Regions from separate parts of the Homo sapiens genome. Here regions 2, 3 and 4 are each linked to region 1. The links are contacts of gene promoters, found by promoter capture Hi-C in blood cells and fetal thymus (Javierre and others, 2016). All regions are on one chromosome and are shown on one strand. Each heading gives the region's core, a stretch centred on a gene start or on the middle of the fragment in contact. The rest is flanking DNA. Distances are from core to core; before and after follow the strand shown.

What was found. The method cuts DNA at HindIII sites, captures the fragments that hold promoters and counts their contacts. A CHiCAGO score of 5 or more calls a contact.
Region 2: a contact is called between the fragment with the promoter of PRDM14 here and the fragment with the promoter of SLCO5A1 in region 1, in 3 of 17 cell types (naive B cells, erythroblasts and total B cells). The highest score is 10.6, in naive B cells.
Region 3: a contact is called between a fragment that was not itself captured here and the fragment with the promoter of SLCO5A1 in region 1, in 5 of 17 cell types (neutrophils, naive B cells, total B cells and 2 more). The highest score is 14.1, in neutrophils.
Region 4: a contact is called between a fragment that was not itself captured here and the fragment with the promoter of SLCO5A1 in region 1, in 1 of 17 cell types (neutrophils). The highest score is 5.1, in neutrophils.

Annotation. Positions count from the first base shown.
Region 1 is chr8:69,833,397-69,836,770 of GRCh38, reverse strand. SLCO5A1 (solute carrier organic anion transporter family member 5A1) reads left to right here and starts at 1,793. Exons shown (of 10, transcript NM_030958.3): 1 at 1,793-1,917. It overlaps SLCO5A1-AS1 (SLCO5A1 antisense RNA 1), which reads right to left and starts at 2,659. Exons shown (of 4, transcript NR_186568.1): 1 at 2,578-2,659. RefSeq lists a silencer at 1,528-1,637 and an enhancer at 1,958-2,037. The HindIII fragment of the contact is 8,160 bases long and covers 1,245-3,374 here.
Region 2 is chr8:70,069,758-70,073,131 of GRCh38, reverse strand. It overlaps PRDM14 (PR/SET domain 14), which reads left to right and starts at 1,880. Exons shown (of 8, transcript NM_024504.4): 1 at 1,880-1,982; 2 at 3,248-3,374. The coding sequence starts at 3,272. RefSeq lists enhancers at 927-1,656, 1,657-2,386. The HindIII fragment of the contact is 12,104 bases long and covers 1,363-3,374 here.
Region 3 is chr8:69,658,510-69,661,883 of GRCh38, reverse strand. SULF1 (sulfatase 1) reads right to left here. Exons shown (of 23, transcript NM_001128205.2): 23 at 972-3,374. The coding sequence ends at 3,349. Among named protein-coding and RNA genes, the nearest start is that of SULF1, 170 kb to the right of the region's middle. The HindIII fragment of the contact is 267 bases long and covers 1,674-1,940 here.
Region 4 is chr8:69,680,872-69,684,245 of GRCh38, reverse strand. It overlaps SLCO5A1 (solute carrier organic anion transporter family member 5A1), which reads left to right. Exons shown (of 10, transcript NM_030958.3): 7 at 1,903-2,062. Among named protein-coding and RNA genes, the nearest start is that of SLCO5A1-AS1, 150 kb to the left of the region's middle. The HindIII fragment of the contact is 5,118 bases long and covers 1-3,374 here.

The sequences.
Region 1 (3,374 bases), core at 544-3,043:
TAGGTCAGTCTTGCAGCTGCCAGAAGATTGATGCTCTCTCAGCATGGACTTCAAATACACACTGATTGTTCTTTACTGTCAACTGGCCTTAATTGTTCTCTAAGGATCGCTGTAGATACGACGGTTGTTGGACTAAAGGGAGATAATCAAAAGAATCAAGGTGCATTGACGAGTCAGGATGTTATTCAATGGCAGGAGAGAGGGTAGAGAGTCAGGGTTAAGAGGTTAAGTAAGAACATAGTCTTTTGGAGCACATTGGTTCATATTGTCTACAGAGCAGCTGTGTGCCTATATAAAGTTACTTAACCTCTCTACACTTATCACATCTGTAAAATGGAGACAATGCTTTCATTGGGCAAGGCCAAGGGCCAGTGGAGGGGCTTCGACCTGGCAGCAATGGCCAGCATGGTCACTGGTACTTGTGAGCAACCTCCTTTCCTCCATTAGAGCACTATCCTGCTCTGTCAATGGTCACAAGTGCCCTCAGATACTCTTTTTTTTTTTTTTTTTCAGTTATCATCCTGTTTGTCTTCCCTGCAGCCTGTACACATCTGACCCTTCCCTTCTTACAGTCGTCTGCTCTTTTGGCTTTTCTGATGCGTCCCACACCTCTCTGACCCTTGCTTCCAGTCTCCTTCCTTTGGCTGTACGCTGTCCTCCTAGATTCTTCACAATTTGGATGATCTTCCCTATTCATTCCATCCTTTCTCATGCCACCTTTGGGCTGATGACTACTGATCAATATTCCTAGTCCAAACCTCCTGTGTGTCCAGTGGCTTATGGGACACGTACACTGGGATGTCCCCCAAACATTTCAAACTCAACACATGTAGATGAGAACAATCTTTCTCCTAAAGCATGTTTCTCCACCTGTGCTTTTATTGGCTGTCAGGCACGTAGTCACCCAACTTGGTGCTAGAAACTTGGGAGTCATCCTACCTCGGCTGGTTTTCTTCTCTTGCAGATTGCATCAGCTGCCCAGTTCCCTCCTCTCCATGCCCCCTGCCAATGCCTCATCACATTTTGCTTTCAGACTGCCTCCCAACTCACTTCTGTGCCCGCAGTGTGGCCTCACATCTGTCTACCTGTCACTGCCAGAGCCAGCTCTCTGGTGAGGAAGTCAGAACGTCATTGCCCCCACATTATTGACAGTACACAACTTAGGAAACCCGTAGTGCCCCTTTCTACTCAGCCACTCTTGCAGTCTGGTCCTCTGCCCCATCCCTGCAATCTTCTAGGAAGCTTATCTACCTATTGACTGGCAGCACCATGCCCCCGTGCCTCTGTTCTTCCTGCTGCGTGGAAATGAAGGCTAATGGATATTGGCTACTCCAGTAGCAGGCTGCATAGATGTACCACGTTGTTTTAAGCCATTTACATGAGTATTTCCCCCACAAGCCAGAGGTTTCCTCCGACCAAGTATCTTGTCTTGTTTATCTTTGGTCCCAGAATCTACTATGGTGAATGAGACATGGTGTGTGCCCAAGGCACGGAATAAACGATCAGAAATGATTTATTTATTCAGAGTGGGCTGTCAGCTTCAGCCGCTGACTTTTCTAGAGACCGGCTCCCTCGGGGCTTCAGCGCTCTTGGGCCCCCGCAGCCACGCAGGTGAAGGGCAGCGGGGTGGCTGGCTGTGGGAGGGCTGGGCTGGGTGGCTGCCCTCGCGCCTGCGCCCTCGGCTGCTCCTCTCCGGGCGCGTCTCTGTGCGCGTGTGTCTGTTTGGAGCGGAGGAGAGGCTTGGGTGACAGGCGAGGGGTGGGGGGAAGAGTTCAGCCTGAGTCACAGTCTCATTCACTGATTTCTCTTCGGCTGGACGGAGGCTGCCTCCTCACGCGGCTCCCAACTATTCCCGTAGCTCAGTGCCCCCCTCCCGCCGCTCTACTCAGCCAGGCAGACAGACTGACAGACTCGCTAGTGAGTAGCGGCGGCTTGAGCGCCCGGGCAGCGCGGCGGGCTGTCGCCGGCGGTCTTGTCTTCCCACGGGCTCTGTGTGTGTGTGTGTGTGTGTGTGTGTGTGTGTGTGTGTGTGTGTAGGATGTGCGTGTATGTGATGTGCGCGCAGGGGGTGTCCCTGGGATTCCACGCCTGCTCCAAGAGCTCCCTGCCGGGATCCGCGTGTCCATCCGAGTCTGCGATGCTGTGAGGGCGCTCGCCTAAGCAGGGGGTTCGGACGCCCCCCGCGAGCGGCGAGAGTTTGCTGGGATTCCCCGGCTCCTCACGCAGCGGCTGGTGGGGTTCCCCGGGAAGGCGCCTGGGTAAGGCAGCGGCGGGGAAGCCCGGGATTGTGAGTGGCTGGCAGGCCGGGAATCTGGGAGCGGGTTTGGCCCAGCACAGCCGAGGGAGATGCCGGAGCGGCCACCCTTGGCCGCCCAGCCTCTCTGCCTTTCTCCCTTGCCCTTCCTCCTTTCTTTTCTCAGCAGCATCACAAAGGCGCGCTGCAAAATGAAACCCAGTGTAGTGAAGCTCGGCTGTCTCCCACCTGGTGCATATTCCGCCCCCCGTCCTTGCCCCAGGCTGGAGGAGTGGAGTGGGGGTCCCCAAGATTAGGGGCGGGGTCTTACCACGGGGGCACACCTGTTTTCGATTCTTGCTGAATTCAAGCTGGGTGCGGGATCGCGAGAGAGGTTCCAGTACGCCGGTGTGTGTGTGTGTGTGTGTGTGTGTGTGTGTGTGTGTGTGTGGCCGCGCACGCGCACACGCTCCCCAGGCCCACGCTAGCGGGGTGCGCTCAGTCAATAGCACACCTCCCCGCCGGCCCGCGTGCGCCCAGCCGGCTCCGTGGGCTCCTCGCGCGCTCTCTGACAGCGTGCCGGGATCTCTTTGTTTGGTTGTGGCTTCCCTAGCTCTCGGCAAAGCAGACGGATTTTCGGTTTCGTTTGATACCGCGCTCTGGGACTTAGTGCGGGCCACAGCCTCGAATGCCCCTGGTATTTGTAATTGAAGAGTTCTTTCGGTCAGGGGGTTATTTTTGGTGTTGGGAATAAAGAGGCAAGCATGTTGACCTTTTTGCTGCTGCCTTCGGCTTTGAATGTGTGTCTCTGGTGGAGCAGACAGATTCAAATCTAGTCGCGCACACGTGCCAACGCACACCAGTGTGCACACACATTTCTACACACGTAGTTTACCCCCACCTTCTTTTTTCCTTTTAGAAAAATTGGGACAGGGAATACATTGTGTGTCTGTGAAAAAGTTTCCTTTGTTCTTTTGGGCATTTTCTATTTTGAGTAATGGAGTAGGAGTACGGAAAGGCTGCAGTTAGTTCACTCGATTAAAAGACACTGCCTCTGAGTCAGAGCTGCCAGGTTGATAATTATTAACATATAAAAGCAAACGCAATGTTTAAGGCAGAAGGGGCGGGACGGGGGCAGGTC
Region 2 (3,374 bases), core at 631-3,130, 240 kb before region 1:
GGATTTCAACTTTTCTTTTATCGATTTCTCCCAACTTCTTAAAACAAGCAAGTGTTATTTTAAAATAGTGTCAAATATAGTAAACTCTGGATTCTTTGCAAAACAAACCTCTAAGATAAGGTTTGATATTGCTTCCGCTAAAATAAAGCTACGACACTTCCGTGCACGAAAAAACGGCCTCTTGAGGACCTGCAACCCACAGATCACCCAGGTGCCCCCATATCATTCTTGAAATCCTACCTGTAAAGCCCAGGAGGAAGTATAGCGAATGCCAGTGGGTCTAGGAGCTCTGGGGTGAGCACGCCTCCGGAAGGAAAACGGCAACAGAATTTATTCTGCTTTTCCAAGTAAATGATCCTTCCACAGAGGCACTTGGGACAAGAGGCGACGGGTACTTTTCACGTTTTCGATCTATTGGCTAAGATCCTATCACCTCAAAACAAGGAGACGAGGAAACCCTGGGATCTTGATCCCATTTCGATTGAGAAAACAACACGCTCCTTGCGAAGCGAAACGGGGCTGGCCGCGGGCAGCGCGGAACCACGCGAAGGCGTCGGGGGCGGGCGGGCGCGGGGACCAGGGCCACCCGGTGCAGCAAAGGGGGCAAGCAGGCGGCAGGGCGCGCGGGGAGACAAGGCTGAGTGCACGCCGCCCGCGCCCTCGAAGGCTCTAGTCCCACTCCTTCCTCCCTTCTTGCAGCCCCGCCGCGCCCTGGCGAAGGCTACAGGGTCAGGTTCCCCGCACCGAGGAGCCCAGAAGCCCGGCTGCGGGCGCTCTGAAGATCCGGGACCCCGGCCTCCGTCCCCCGCCAGCTTTAGGGACTCTGGCGGCGTCTCTTAGCCGGGTAGATGTTCCTCCTTTCCCTCTCTCTTCCAAGCCGCTGCCAGGCCGGGGGTGAGGCTGCACCTCAGTCTTCAGCCCCGAAGGCCGCGCCCGGGGCGGGTCGCTCCCCATTCAGCTAAGAGGAAGCAGCGGCCGGGGGGCAGGCGAGGAACCTGTCCCGGCTCACCCGGCAAGACTGCGTTTCCCCCACCCTCGGCGCTTCTTTCTGTGAATGTGAATGGAACTAAGCGTTCCTTTCTCTCCCTCAATGGCCGGCGAGGAGAATTCAAATGCGGTCTTTGGGCGCTCGGTATGGGTCTGGACCTTGGTTTTCAGAGCCTGCGCGTCCAAGGTCGCTAGCCTTTCCCGAAGGAAGTGACAGCTGCGGCGGCGCGGGAGGCCCATCCTCGGTCGTTTAAAGCCACTTAAGGAATAAAAGCCCCCGAGAGAGCAAAACGACCACCCGAAACCTCGGAAGCGTCGGGGGTGCCGGGCCCAACGCTCCCACGTGTCACTGCCGGGGACTCGCGAGGCGAAGCTTCCCAGCGCTCAAGGCGCTCCCGCCTCGTCCCCAGGTATCAGGAACAGACACCCACCAGGTCCACCAGCGGGTCAGACGCCGCCTTCGGGCAGGCTGGGATCTTCCGAACTGGGAGCGGAGAGTAAGGGGCTCGACCCCGGGACGCGAGTCCGGCCTTCTGGACTCCGGTTCAGGGTGTGTGTGCGCGCGGAGGGGCTTATCTGGGGGCCCTGGGTAGCACACGTGTTCGGTTTTTTTCTCCCCGACTCCGCACGCCTGGAGCGGCAATACTGCCTGCCCTAGAAGGCCAGCGGCGAGTGCTCGCCACTAGGGTCCCAGGGAGGGTTTGGAAAACTGATGAGTTAAGTGAGCGACCCCAGGGGACAGAGGGCGAGTCGAGAGTCGGCCAATGGCTGCGGTGGGCGGGGAGAAGACGACGCGGGGATCTGCGTGGGCCGGGTCAATTCCCTACCCTCGACCTGTCGATGCCCCGCGGCCCCGCCCGCCCTCTTAAGCCTGGCTCAGCCCTCAGGGCCCGCCCGAAGTCTACCGAGCCCGAGTGGCCTACCGAGCCCGAGTGGCCCCGCAGCGTCCAGGAGGCGCCCGCTCCGCGGTGGCGCTCTTGGAGGTGGTGTCGGAGGTAGGCACGGGACAGGACGCGCCTGGGGCCCGGGGCGGTGGTCTTCCAGGGCCGTTGGGGAGGGCGGCAGCACTCGCTGGCGCAGTTCGTTTTGGATGGTCGTTCTGCCCTCTCGGGGGCTTTGAATCCCAAGTTGCAGATCCCTGAGGTCGGAGGAGGCTAGGAGAAGGGCGCCTTTGGAGGATCGGGAGGAGACGGGCCGCTGCCTGTGTCGTGGCTGACCTCTTCTCCTGACCCCGTGTTCTTTAATTTCTGAGTCATGACCCTGCTTGGTTTTCTTATTGGGCTCATTGATCTCAAGACCCGCCGGCCCTGAAGGGGCTTCATTCTTCAGCCTCGGTGAACTTGCTGCCTGTCTATTAAAACGCCATCCTTTCCCGGCGGTGCGGGGGCGGGAGGACTGGCAGTCGCCGAGGCTCTTCGCTCCCACCTGGCCAGGGCTCGTCCACGCGGCTCCCGAGGGGCTACCCCAGGCCCCAATAGTCCTGGTAGAATGATTGGAGTTTCCGAGGAACCCGGGGAATGTGGCGGACGCTGCCCGCGAGGGAAAAGAGGTTCAGGCGGCGCATCCTAGGGCAGCCAAAAGTGGCGCGCCCCTCCCCTGCGGGCAGTCAGGACCGCCAGGACCCGCGGGGTCACACCGCTGGGCCAGAGCAGGTCGCGGGGTCCCTGGACCTGCCCGGGGGCTCTGGGAGCGCGTCTCCATCTGCGCGGTGCGACCCAGGGTCCTCGGCTCTTCCCTCCCAGCCGAGGGCCCAGGAGCGCCTGGAGCTGTCGCTTGCTCCATTGCCCTCCGACCGCCTGCGCTCGGCTCCCGGCCCAGCCCCGAGGTTGGCAGGGCCCCGCGGCTCCCACAGACCCTACCAACGAGTTTTGTAGGACTGAGAAGAAGGAAGGAAAGGGAACTTCAATGGGTTTTGCAGGAACCGGGTTGGGGGCCGAAAGCGGAGAGCGGGTGTGGGAAGGCGGCCGGGCTTAGGGAAGGGGTGCTTGGAGAGGGAAGGGGAAGGCAACACTAACCCGGAATTTAGAGTAGGGCAGGATCCCGGCAGATTTCCGTTTGGGGCTTTTTTGTGTTTGCTTCTATTGCTGTTTTTTCGTTTTGTCTTAATTGTGGGAGCGGGCTGGCGGGATCGGACTGGGGGCGTTTATCCTGTTCCCTTGGATCTGGGGCTGGCTGGGGTGGAGGAGGCTGGTGGGGAGGCGCGGGTCGGACCCCGGGAAGCTCCCGCGCGGTGTCCTCAGCGGCGCCCGCTTTTCTGCAGAGCCGCCGAGCGTGCGGTCCCGGGATGGCTCTACCCCGGCCAAGTGAGGCCGTGCCTCAGGACAAGGTGTGCTACCCGCCGGAGAGCAGCCCGCAGAACCTGGCCGCGTACTACACGCCTTTCCCGT
Region 3 (3,374 bases), core at 558-3,057, 170 kb after region 1:
CCTCGCAGATCAAATGAGGCTAGCTGGGCAGCCAATCTCTAAGGGCCTTTCAAGATCCGATAAACAGCTCTGGGAGACATGCAATCCCTCTCATGTCCTTGCCACATAGTAGGTACTCCATATGCAGCTATTGAATGGAACTAAGATGCATTTTTCTCCAGGATGGCAATATTTGACTCAGGCACATTTTACAGAAAGGAACAAGGAGCAAGGCACCAAGATGCGCCTTTGGACAACAATGCTATTATCTTAGACTATGTTCTCTTGAAAACTTGGTTTCCTCAATTATCCAAGGGTTGGATTGGTAGGTCCCCTGACCCTTTGCTTTCTTTTTTTCTTCTTCTTATTTATTTTTAACCTTCTGGTCTCTGGACATTTCACAGATTTTTAGCCCCTCAACCTGAAGGCTAAATTTCTTCAGGAGATTTGGAACAGACAGAAGGAAGCATATGGAATTTGTGTATCAAAAAACTTGAGATCTTGAAGGGTGTTTAGGTTTCCACCCAAGTTCCTGGTTCCTGAAGAACCGACACTGCCTTCAGTGGGTCTGTTCTCTTGGTTTTGAAAAATTCCATTTTACTGCCCAGAACCATTTTTGGTTCTGCCCAGACCTGATTTGCAGGGCCCCCGTGGAAAATGAAAATGTGGGGCCCCTTGTTAAAAAATTATTAAGGATTTCAAGGCGGTGACATCAGAGCATTAAACCAAGTGCTGGCCCTTTGTGACCATCTAGGTTGCCTGCCGGGAAAGCTACCTTGGCGCTGCCTCTGCTGCCTCCCTCAAGACAGCAATGAGGTAAATCCGTGGTGAAGTTGTTAATCTGAGAACGTTCTATAACACATTGACTTCAGCTCCATTTTATAAGTTTGGTTAGTATTCAATCATGTAAATAGAGATCATGACTCAATTTTACTTGCAAGAAATGGGTGTACCACAAAAACTTGGTTAAGTTCATTTCTCTGAAACAGAAAAAAGTTTAAACACCTTTTATTTGAAGAAATATTGCTTCTAGACTTTCCTGAAGCCAGAATTGTTCTATAAAAGTATCATGGAATATTATACATGATTAAAAAACAGAGTATGCTTCCTAATAACTTGAAATCTTTTTACAAAGCACATTATTCATGATCATAAATATGTTTGTTCTGTCATCCCACCGATGATACACACATCAGGCAAGCAGCTAATTTGAACATATGTACAGAGTCTATGATAAAGATTTAAAGTTACCAAAAAGATTCAGCTATAACATATTAAATTTTCTTTAAAAGAGTTTACCATAAACACTTAAAGAAAACATAATTTATCTAAGCACTTGAATTATCTAAAAATAAGAAGAAAACCTCTCTTAGGGTAAGCAAAAACACATCATCTTGGGGAGCTGAATAGGAGGGTACTGATGACTCAGTGAGGTAATCCTTTAGCTGGTATTTAAAAACCTAATACACAACAAGGATATTTTCAAGAATACAGATTTTCAAAAGCAATTTTGAACTATGTCTTTAAAAGATATCAGAACTTGGTGAAGGTCTTACAAATAATCATAGAACACAATGTTAAGAAATTAACTTCTCTTGTGGTATGTTGAAATTGTGGAGCATTCATGATTTTCTTTTATTGAGAAGTTCTTGGTGTAAATTCAAAACTAGTCATATTTTATCAACATTTAAGCTTCTTAGTCATGCCAAGAAAACCAAAAAAGATGAAAATAAAAGATCTTTAGATCTTTTTCTCCTGTCAAGAAAATAACCCAAAATATAGCAATCTTAAAGGTATGATGTATGATGAACGCTTTGAGGCTAGGCACAGAGAGAGCAGGCAATCTTCATTTTGTTTACTTATTTATTTATTTTCACCACCAACATTATTAGCCATGCCTTTCTGCTAATCGATTTTAGCAAGTCGAGGTAAAACACATGCAACATTTTCTGGCAAAAGCTTAATGTCAAACAATATGTGATCCATACTGTGTGTCGTCCTTGGGGGTTTATTTGACTTTGTCACAATGACAGCCAACAGTGAGACTGATAAGCCTGTAAAAATAAAAAAATAAGACTAATCAAATAGACATGGCATTTTAATCTCAAAGTGCAAAATCATCTAACTGAAAATGACGGCATTGAAAAATTCCAGTGGTTAAAAATGAATCAAAACTTCATTACGCAGGCAGTGGAAGTGTGTTGAAAGATTTACCAGGGGTGTCAAGTTTTAGACACTCAGAAAGGCACCATTCTAGCCATCTTGATTGGATAACATGTATATACTTATGTCCCTACGATATTCAAAAGATAATACTGTTTTAGTACAAAACAAACAAACAAGCAAAAAATCAAAACCAAGCCAACCCAAATATCCCCAGCCTTTCTTTCTACTCTTGGCAGATAGTAAATTATAACGATGAGTCTCCGTGTGCACACCGCTTGCTCACATGCTCACTAGCTTCTACTGCACAAAGGTACCCAGGGTAGCTTGGAATGTTGGTGGCTGTGATTACCTTTATTAGTTTACAAATAAAAAAGTTAAAAAGAAATACTGTGTTTAGGGTAAGGTAACAGTTTCATCTAATCAGAGGAGAGTGAAGAGGAGGCGCTGCCTTCTAGGTGCTGTGACTTCTCCTTTTCGTGATTCTTCTCCACCTTGGTCAACATCTTCCCCGCTATGCTGGAATTACTTCGGTGTTCTGCGGTGGCCATGGTGAACATCTGATGAACTGAAATTCCATCGGAATGCACAGGAAGATATAGTTGATCTTCAAAAATGTCCTTTCCAGGACCACCATACTGGGGAAGTTCTTTCGGGTGCCTGCGAATGGGCTGCAGCCTGGGGCTGGGCCCGAGCTCTAGCTCTGTCATGCCATCGCCACTGAAATCGGTTTCCAGATGATTAGTCTCTTCATGCCCCGTCCATTTTTCGGTTTTTCTCCAGTGTTCAGAATTCAAATGATTAACTTCTGGAATGTCGTTATTCCATTCAAGTTTACTCTCTGGACTTAATGTTGGTCGGTTCAAATGCAGGGTTTGAAGGTCAGCTGGCAAGGTCAAATGAGGTGTTTTCCCAACCTTATGCCTTGGGTCTTCATCTGAGTCAGCAGAGGCCATCTCCATTGACACAGCGTGCTCAGCAGAGACAACCAAGAACCCGTCACTTTGAGCAGTTTGAGTCTTATTTGTTTTATTTTGCTCATAGTGACTCTTCAGCAGTGCAAATACTCTATCTAAATCCTTCAAGTAATTAGTCCAGTCCACCAGACTAAGTCTGTAGTTTTGTCTGTACTCATAGATGTTTTCATTCACACTGTGTAGCTCCTCTAGGCCTTGCCAGTTGATGTCTGCAGTGAGACGGGGCTGATTAACCTTCCCATCCATCCCATAACT
Region 4 (3,374 bases), core at 586-3,085, 150 kb after region 1:
CCCCTGGGGGGGCAAAATTGACCCAGTGGAGACCCACTAGTCTAGAATAATATTTTTTTAGGTATATACAAACTTTAAGATGATATGACACTAGGAGTTTGTGAATGTAATGATTATTAGAGTCTTGTCATACTTTTTTTCTATGGAGCGACATGAATGAAAAACAGAATTTATTTGCCTTTTGCATTGTTAGGAGGATTTCTTGATAAGACTTTAATATTGTTTTGAATTTGTTTCCCCCATTAAAATTTAAGGACTCATTATCAAAGTTTGAAAGAGGCCACAGGAGAAAAACCTTTGAACAAACACCAATTAACACGCATGATTGGGATGGGCTATGCTACTGTATAAGTGGTACCAGCATAGTCATTAAAGATAAGTCTTGGCCAGGCATGGTTGCTCACGCTTGTAATCCTAGCACTTTGGGAGGCCAAGGGGGAGTGGATCACGAGGTTAGGAGTTCGAGACCAGCCTGGCCAACATGGTGAAACCCCATCTCTACTGAAAATACAAAAATTAGCCGGGCATGGTGGCAGGTGCCTGTAATCCCAGCCACTCGGGAGGCTGAGGCAGGCGAATTGCTTGAACCTGGGAGGTGGAGGGTGCAGTGAGTGGAGATCACGCCACTGCACTCCAGCCTGGGCGACAGAGTGAGACTCCTTCTCAAAAAAAAAAAAAGATAAGTCTTGGTGGCGAGGGAGGGAGTTGAGGGGCGAGAAATTACCTATTGAGTGCAATGTACATCAGTCAGGTGATGGGTTCACTAAAAGCCCAAACTTCGCTACTACACAATATATCCACATGACAAAACTGTTCTTTCACCCCCTCTAAATCTATTTCAAAAAAGATAAGACCTGGTACGTAACAGACATTCCAAAATATTTGTTAAATGGGTAGATACTGGAAAAATGGATGGTTGGATGAAGGATCTGCTATTGCTAACTCATCTAGTCTTGGGAACAACATTTCATCAGTGATACACAAAACTGGTGGTCACAAAAGCAAAAGCGGTCATGGGGTACGAGCAGTACAGAGCGCCTTTCCTTTTCCTGTGGATCCCCCAGGTGCTCCTCTGCTCTTCCACCGCTGTTTGTTTACACTCTTCTCCCCAGGCCTATATCCTTACCTGCCTTTCCTTCCCTCTATATTTGTTGCCTGAATTTATTTTCTTCAAGCCTTTCATATGGTATCATTTCTTTGTATCAGACACCATGATCTCAAGAAAAGAAACCCACCATATTTGATTGTGGATCCACACCGGGGCAATCCTGAGTGAAGAACTGCTTAATCTTTATTCTCTGGTTGTTTAAATCAAACTAGCAATGTGATTCCTAATCATCTTTGAAAATACTTCATTTTGATTGTCTAGAGCCCCAATGCCTTTCTTTGATAATTTATTCTAGAATACAAGTTTTTGGTCGAAGGAACGTATATTAATAACTGGGATAGATGGATTTTAACAGTGATCATGTGCTCACAGTGATGTTATTGATTCAATACTAAAAAGTATTTTCTCCATTTTATAAAGAAATTGAGGTACAGATTTGTTAAGATGTAGAGCCTGGCGCCTACAGTAAGTGAGTAGTTATATTAGGGTTGGAATTGCAGAGCCCAGATGTTGAGACCAGGTTCATAGCACCAAGAGGGAGGGTGAAATTGATGTGGGGCAGTAATTTGATAAAAAGCATTGAATCTGTAATACCAGTAAGTTGAAACATTTTTCTTTATGTTTTGTTTTAAAGTCACAAAATAATTGTTGAGGATGACTACTTTGGGTATCATGGCTTTGATTCAATGGGAAGAATATTTTCTCTAAAATGGACAAATTATTAATTTCAAGACCTTTCCTATGAGTTTTATTTTGGTAAGTGTTGCTCATGATCTGCTTCTCTTCTCTCTTAGACCTTCTCTCACCATGCCCCATAGGAATCTGACAGGAAGCTGCAACGTTAATTGTGGTTGTAAAATACACGAGTATGAGCCAGTCTGTGGATCAGATGGAATTACATACTTTAACCCTTGTCTGGCTGGCTGTGTTAATAGTGGTAATCTTAGCACTGGGGTGAGTATATTTCACAAGTTCCTCTTCTGTTAGTCCAACATCCTGTGACAAGGATGTGATGAAATTCCTATGCAGCTACAATGACTTCAGTCTTTCTTTTCAAGAGGCTCCAAGTAACCTACAAAATACCTCTGATGAAAACCTAGAGGAAAGAAAATTATGCATTGCTATTATTTTTTTTTCCAGGGATGACTGGAACATTTGGGTGCAGGGATTTTGTTCCATATCAGCCTTCTCCTACTTTATATTCTGCGCCAAGTCAGTGAAACTTGATAAGGTTGAGCTCTAGGCCTGCCATTTGTTTCTCTGACAGGGCCCTTGTGATGGATTTGAAGGTCAAGATGACCACATTTGGTGCTGATAAAAAAGTATAGGAAAGCACCTCCCCTGACTGGAGTCTGTGAAGATGGGTGATGGCCATTTTTCATAGACTATATCAGTTCAGTTCCGGCTTAAAAAAAAACTTTCAAAGTAAAGATATTTCTGACAGTTCAAGAATAGGCTATTTTGAGAATTCCCTTTCCTGTAAATTATAAATGGGCTGTAATACTGTGGGAGAAGGTTTTCATATTCTACTGTTTCTTTTTTTTGAGATGGAGTTTTGCTCTTGTTGCCCAGGCTGGAGTGCAATGGCATGATCTCGGCTCACCTCAACCTCCGCCTCCCAGGTTGAAGTGATTCTCCTGCCTCAGCCTCCCTAGTAGTTGGGATTATAGGCATGTGCCACCATGCCTGGCTAATTTTGTATTTTTAGTAGAGACGGGGTTTCTCCATGTTGGTCAGGCTGGTTTCGAACTCCCGACCTCAGGTGATCTGCCTGCCTTGGCCTTCCAAAGTGCTGGGATTACAGGTGTGAGCCACTGTGCCCGGCCTCTACACAGTTACTTATTGAGCCCAGTTTGATTCTTTGTGAAGAACAGATTGTACGAAGTTGCTTTCACTAAAAGGTTAAAATGCATGTGCTTGTTCTGTGCAGGTGATAAGGGATTATACCATCCACTGAATGTTTTGGGGATATTGTTTTTGATGTCTGAGTTTTAAACTGCAATGATAAATTGAGAATTCCTGTTGTTTGTTCCCCATTATATAATTGGTGAACTCCACTGTGTCGCCATGTTGAAAGGGTGAGATCTGTTCTCTTGGTGGCGAAGTCCTTTCTTGAGAGTGAGTGTTCATCCTTTAAAATATGCCAGCAGTCTTTTGAGCATGACAGCCAAACAGTGCCCCATCTTCATACTTTTTCTTATGACTGCTTCAAGTATTCAAAGGTTGCAATGAAGGCCAGCTGATGTCCATTTAGTCTGACTCTGTC